Regions from separate parts of the Homo sapiens genome. Here region 1 is linked to region 2. Evidence: promoter capture Hi-C in 16 types of primary human blood cells and fetal thymus (Javierre and others, 2016). All regions are on one chromosome and are shown on one strand. The core of a region is centred on a gene start or on the middle of the fragment in contact, and the rest is flanking DNA. Distances in the headings are between cores, read along the strand shown. Region 1 has its middle 3.2 kb from the start of FHOD3. Region 2 holds the start of ZNF396 (zinc finger protein 396).

The links. The method cuts DNA at HindIII sites, captures the fragments that hold promoters and counts their contacts. A CHiCAGO score of 5 or more calls a contact.
Region 1: a contact is called between a fragment that was not itself captured here and the fragment with the promoter of ZNF396 in region 2, in 1 of 17 cell types (total B cells). The highest score is 6.5, in total B cells.

Annotation. Positions count from the first base shown.
Region 1 is chr18:36,293,102-36,295,854 of GRCh38, reverse strand. No RefSeq gene overlaps it. Among named protein-coding and RNA genes, the nearest start is that of FHOD3, 3.2 kb to the left of the region's middle. The HindIII fragment of the contact is 2,627 bases long and covers 177-2,753 here.
Region 2 is chr18:35,375,898-35,378,866 of GRCh38, reverse strand. It overlaps ZNF396 (zinc finger protein 396), which reads left to right and starts at 1,530. Exons shown (of 4, transcript NM_001322286.2): 1 at 1,530-1,589. RefSeq lists silencers at 1,745-1,814, 1,825-2,014. The HindIII fragment of the contact is 6,702 bases long and covers 172-2,969 here.

The sequences.
Region 1 (2,753 bases), core at 241-2,740, 920 kb before region 2:
GCCCATCCTCTCAGGGGCCTCCTCTCCACACCCCTCCTTCAGTCCCACCTGTCCTTTGGGTACCTGGCTTGCTTCTGCCCCATCTACCAAGTGCCTGCTGCTAGTGGGACCACTCAGTGCCCCACTTCCACCCCAAAGCCCCTCAGCCTCTTACTCCACTGATGCTGCTGCAAGCTTCTGCCCCTTTCCTCGACTCAGAAATTAGTCAATAAGGTAAATAATTTCTCCAGAATGACTTCTAGCACCCTCTCCTCTTCATCTTTCATCTTATTTTCCATCTCCTCTCCATCTTCCATCTCCCACTTCTCAGAAGGTGACCAAAGTCATACTTTTCCTCCCATTCAAGGCTCTGCCCCCACCTGGACCCTGGGTCCCTTTCATCCCACTTGCTCTTGCCTGGGGCTCTATCACTGATCCACTCACTTCCACCTTCCTCCCCTGGCCCCTTACCCTGAGAACCAGGGCCTGCTTCCTGATGTGCAACTCTTGAAGCCACACAGGGCTCTGCACTTTAAAGGGTCCCAAATTGGTTTAATGTTTAGCTGTTGTTGTCTTGAATTTTTTAAATACTTTTTTAAGGAGTCCCGGCATTTTAGTTGTGCACTGGGCCCCATAAGTTATGTACTCAATCCTAATGAGAATAAATACTCAAGTGTTTTCCATCTTAAAAGCTGCATCTTTATGAAGCCCACTTCTCACTCTAGCTCCCTGGCTTATCTCATCATCACTTCCTAACCAACTTCTGAGAGAGAGCCATATTCATTTCTTAGCATCCTCATCACCTTTTCTCCATACCCCATGACATCTGGAAGGAAACCCCTTCCTGCCATTCTAAGATCATCAATGCCAGCCTAATTTTCTTACCTGGAGGACACCTTGGCCCTGCTACCCACTTTCTTGGCAGCATCTGTCACCATGGCACCATGGAAGATTCTTTTCTCAGACTCTTACCCCCTCAGCTCAATAGCTCTACCCACTGTAGGTTCTCCTCCTCCTTTGACAGCTCCTTCTCAAGTCTTTCTGGGCTTCATCCTCCTCTTGGTCCTGTTCACATTTCCTCTAGATTTTCCTGGCTTCAACCGTCCTCAACCTGCATGCATCCAACTCTATACTCACAGAGGAGTCCCTCTCCTCCCTTCTAGGCTCTGATTTTCACTGGGCAACTAAACATCCCTATCCTGGTTACCACATCATACTCAATTACACATTCAACCCAACACCCCAACCTGGCTGCCCATCCAGAAACTCTTCCACAAGGTTGCCGTCTGCCAGACTGCTTTACCTGCCTGTCTGCTGATTCCAATGCTCTCCAAGCCCTTGGAGCATAGAACACCAGAGCTATGGTTACTGTTAATTTATTGTCTGTGTTGTCACTAAAGAAAAAGCTCCTCTGGGCAACAACCATGCCATATTCAACTCTACGCCTACCACAGAGAAGACACACAATAAATGTCTAATGAATGTATCAACATCAAAGTCATCTTTGACTCCTGCATCTTGCGTTGGTCACTATGACTTGTTACTGAATCAGCCTCTAAAATATTTCTCAATTCTTCCCTTCTCTCTAGCCCTCACTTTCTATGCTAGTCTTCTAATGACTTCCCCAGACTTGCATCCTGCATTTGGTCTTCCACTGGCTTCCCCAGAGCCAGTGATCATTCTAAGATGTGTGTTTGACATATTACACCACAGGGTAAAATCCTTACATTCCAAACCCCTTAGCACAACTCACAAAGCCCTCTAAGACCTGCCTCAGTCTACCACTCCAGGCATATGGTTGGTCATTCCCAGCTTCACAGCCTGCTTTCAAGCCATGCCAAACTTATTACTCTTTCCCAGACATGCTGAGCTTTCTCATGGTGAGCATCTAAACCTAGAATGCTCTTGCCTATCTAGTCAGTCAGCTGAACCCACTTATCCTTCAATTCTCATTTCTAATGTCAACTCTTCTGGAGAGACATCTCCAACTCTACCCCAAACAAGGATTGTCTGTCTTTCTTCTGTGGTCTCAAATTACATATGCCCTTACTGTAGCACTTTTCATGTTACATTGTAAATGTATGCTTGTATATGCCTACTCCACTAACTATAAGATTTTCAGGATTGGAATTTGCCTTATTAAATTTTAATCTGAAAACTTCAGTGACTGGCACCTAAAATGAAACCTTCAGACTTTTTAATTATATAGGCTATCCTTAATTCTTTTAAGGATTTTTGCCTTGGCAAAAATTTACTAATTACTAATATTTTTTCCTCTAACAGCCAATTTTTTTCTCAGCCTAATTTTTAAATTATTTCTTTTTAGTAATGTAATGATTTATCTTAATTTAAAAGGCCAAGAGTAATAAAAAGTTATAACAAGATATCAGAAACAGACATCTGACCCTAGTTTACAACACCCCTTCTTAACATACACACTTTCCAGAGCCACTCGTTTCTAAATAGTGTGAGTACACTGCTGTACTTTGAGCTATCAATTTTAGATAATACACTGACCTTCTGTCATGCGGAGGGTTTTAGCTTCTTTATAGTCCATTTCCTTTTCCAATATTGTTCTGTCACAATGTTAGTCAAATTCTTATGCAGTGATTTTAAAATTTATGATGTTAATATTGTTCCTGTCTGTGCCAAGTTGTGTACAGGATTACATGCCCTTTCTTGTACAACTTTTTGTTTTTCCTCAAGTTAATGTTTGCCTCAATTTTTTTCATTTGATTATTATTTTTTCTTGAACAGCTGGCTAAATCATCTCA
Region 2 (2,969 bases), core at 281-2,780:
ACTACCTGACTGTGAAACTTTTCTAATCAATCTTTTATGTCTGCTCCCTTTTTTGTTGTTGCTGTTTTTAACTTTGGCCTCTGATATCTGGCTGTTTGGTGGACCATACCCATGAATTCATCATCCCTGACCTCTTGCCACATCCCACAGTTCCTCCTTCTCCTTGAAGCTTCTGACTGTCGTTCATATTCTCCTTAAATTGTCTCCTGTGACTTCACACCACTGCCAAGCCTTGCCCTCGTTTCAAATTCTCCCCTGACGTGAGTCATTTAACCTACCCTACCCACCAGCGCCAGAAACACATTCCCACCTGCACTTTTGGGCTGTTTGCTATTTGTGTTGGCAGCTGCATCAGCAAAAAGTCTTATCCTGTGAAAGCCCCTTGTTTGAAGCAAGAATTTCTTCAGATTTAGTTTTACTGTACTCTAATTGGGATCCAAACCTCTCCCTAGTCCCCTAGCGTCATAAACTGAGTAAACCAGCCTCTTCTTTCTTCACTTCAGATTCCAGTACTAACATACTTTTGGGGCGGCGTCATACCAAAAGGGATTTTTTGTTATTGTTCTTTATTAATTAGCAAGTGCTTTTCAAGCATCTCCGTCCTCTCCCTAATTCCTCAGTTACGAGTACAAGTACATTTTCCAGGAGTCCCTAGGGAAAGGGGCTAGAGAAGGAAGTCACGAGGTGGGGCTGTGGTGCATTTAGGCTTAAATTTATTTATTTATTTATTTTTTGAGACGCTCTCACTTTGCAGCCCAGGCTGGAGGGCAGTGGCGCAATCATGGCTAACTGCAGTCTCCACCTCCCCAGATTGAGGTGATCCTCACCCCTCAGCCTCCCAAGAAGCGGGGACTACAGGCATGCGTCTCTACACTCGGCTAATTTCTGTATGTTTTGTAGAGATGCGGTTTAGCCATGTTGGCCAGGCTGGTCTCGAACTCCTTGGCTCATGTGATCTGCCCATCTCGACCTCCCAAAGTGCTGGGATTACAGGCATGAGCCACCGCGCCCGGCCTCAAACTTATTTTTCAATTGAGATTAAGATTATCTGAGGAGAGATATGTGTATGTATTGTAACAAATTTTATGTGGGTCAGTTCTCACTTTTTCAAGGGCCATTGTGTTCTCCTGTGAAAGCATGGGGTTGCGGATGTCAAACTTGTCCCTTAAAACGTCAGTACTTGGGGTGTAACCACTTCGGGAGTGGGAATGGTATTAGGGATTGTACTCAGCGGTAGACAGCACAGCATTCGCCCCTCTCTGTAATCCTTGGCAAGTCACAGGACATTTGAGTTTATTTTCTGTAAAATGGGAATAACCTTACTGAGTTACCGGAGTAAATGAATAATGTAAGCAAAAGCACTTTGCGAAGCAACAATGCTAGTTTATTGAACGGAACACTGAGCAGAGCAGCTGGATTCCCACCGGTCGAGCCTCCCGGTTCTCTTTCCCTGTCCCAAGTGCGCGGCCACAGCGGCTCTTCTCCATGGCAACGTCCCCGCGTTCCGGGCCCCGCCCCGACCCGCCACCAGAACCGGAAGTTGTTGCGCAGCTGGCAGTTCCCCGGTTTCTCCCCGACGGCGTCGGGAGGTGAGACCCGAGGCCTCTTTAGGGCCCCCAGGCTGCGGTCAGAGGCGGTGGTCCCCGGGTGGTGGAAGGGGGACGCGGAGAGGCGGCCGCGGACTCGTCGCCACCCCTCCCTTCGCGCGCAAGTGCAGCACCCTTACACCGTCCCAGATCCCCAGGCCCCTCCCCTCCGCTGCCTGCCCCTGAGTCCGCGCACCCCTTCCCCTCGTCCTTCCCCGGCGGACCCCGGGCGCCTGCCCTGCCAGGTGAACCCGCGCCACCTGCCGCTTCGCCCCGGCGGTTCCCAGCCTGGGAGGCGCGCGGCGCGGCGCGGTGGGCGCGGGAGGTCGGGAGATGGTCGGAAGCCAGCCCTCCCAGAGCCGGCCCACCACAGCAGGGTAGAGCCGAGAGCGGCGTCCCCTGCAGAAAGACCCCTGCGTCCCAGGCTTTGATCGAAGCCTCCCCTCCAGGGACGTTCTTTCTGGTTGTCGTGCGGTGTCGGGGGTTCCTTACCCTCACCTCAGGTTTAGCACAGATTCTGCGCCTGGTGCTGAAGTGACAGGGCGGCCACTCTCTTCCAGAGGCTGCTTTAGCCCCGGGGTCCCTCATATATCCCTTAGGGTACCTGACGGCTCCAAACCGGTGGCCTCAACCCTTCCCACCTCTCAGGTCTTGTTCCCCAGACTCTTCTGGCCCCGCTTCATCTGGGAGCGCGGCTGCCTGCCGCCACTTCCTCCTCTGCGCTGAGACAACGCGCAGGGGTCACCACAAGGGCCCCTGCTGCCTATGGCCTCTAACCACACAGCACCATGGATAAATGTGGACGGCCTGGGTTCAGACCCCAGCTTTGCCCTTGGCCAGAGTACCTGGCTTTGCTGTGACTGCTTCCCCGTCTACAACATGGGGGTAAAAATAATCTAGGGCTTTTATGAGGATTTAACCTTTGTTTATTTTTACTAAGGTGTTCAAAACAGTGCTTGGCACATAGTAAATTCTGTTAATATGTGTGTCTGCTATTGTTTGTTTCATAGCACATCATTGTGTAAAGTTGTATCATTTATTTGGTAACAACTTTATGAACTCACAGGCTTTATACAGGGCCTAGAACAATACTTGGTGAAGTGAGAAAATAAGTCAAATGGCAGGATACATAACGATGGAAGACGGAGGCGCACGTAAGATTTTTAAAGTAGTCATCATTTGCTGAAGTTGTACAAACACTATCATATACCTCCTGCCCAATTTAAAAAATATGATTAGACCGGGTGCAGAGCCTCACGCCTGTACTCCCAGCATTTTGGGAGGCCGAGGCAGAGGGATCACCTGAGGTCAGGAGTTCGAGACCAGCCTGGCCAACATGGTGAAACCCCGTCTCTACTAAAATTATAAAAATTAGCCGGGCGT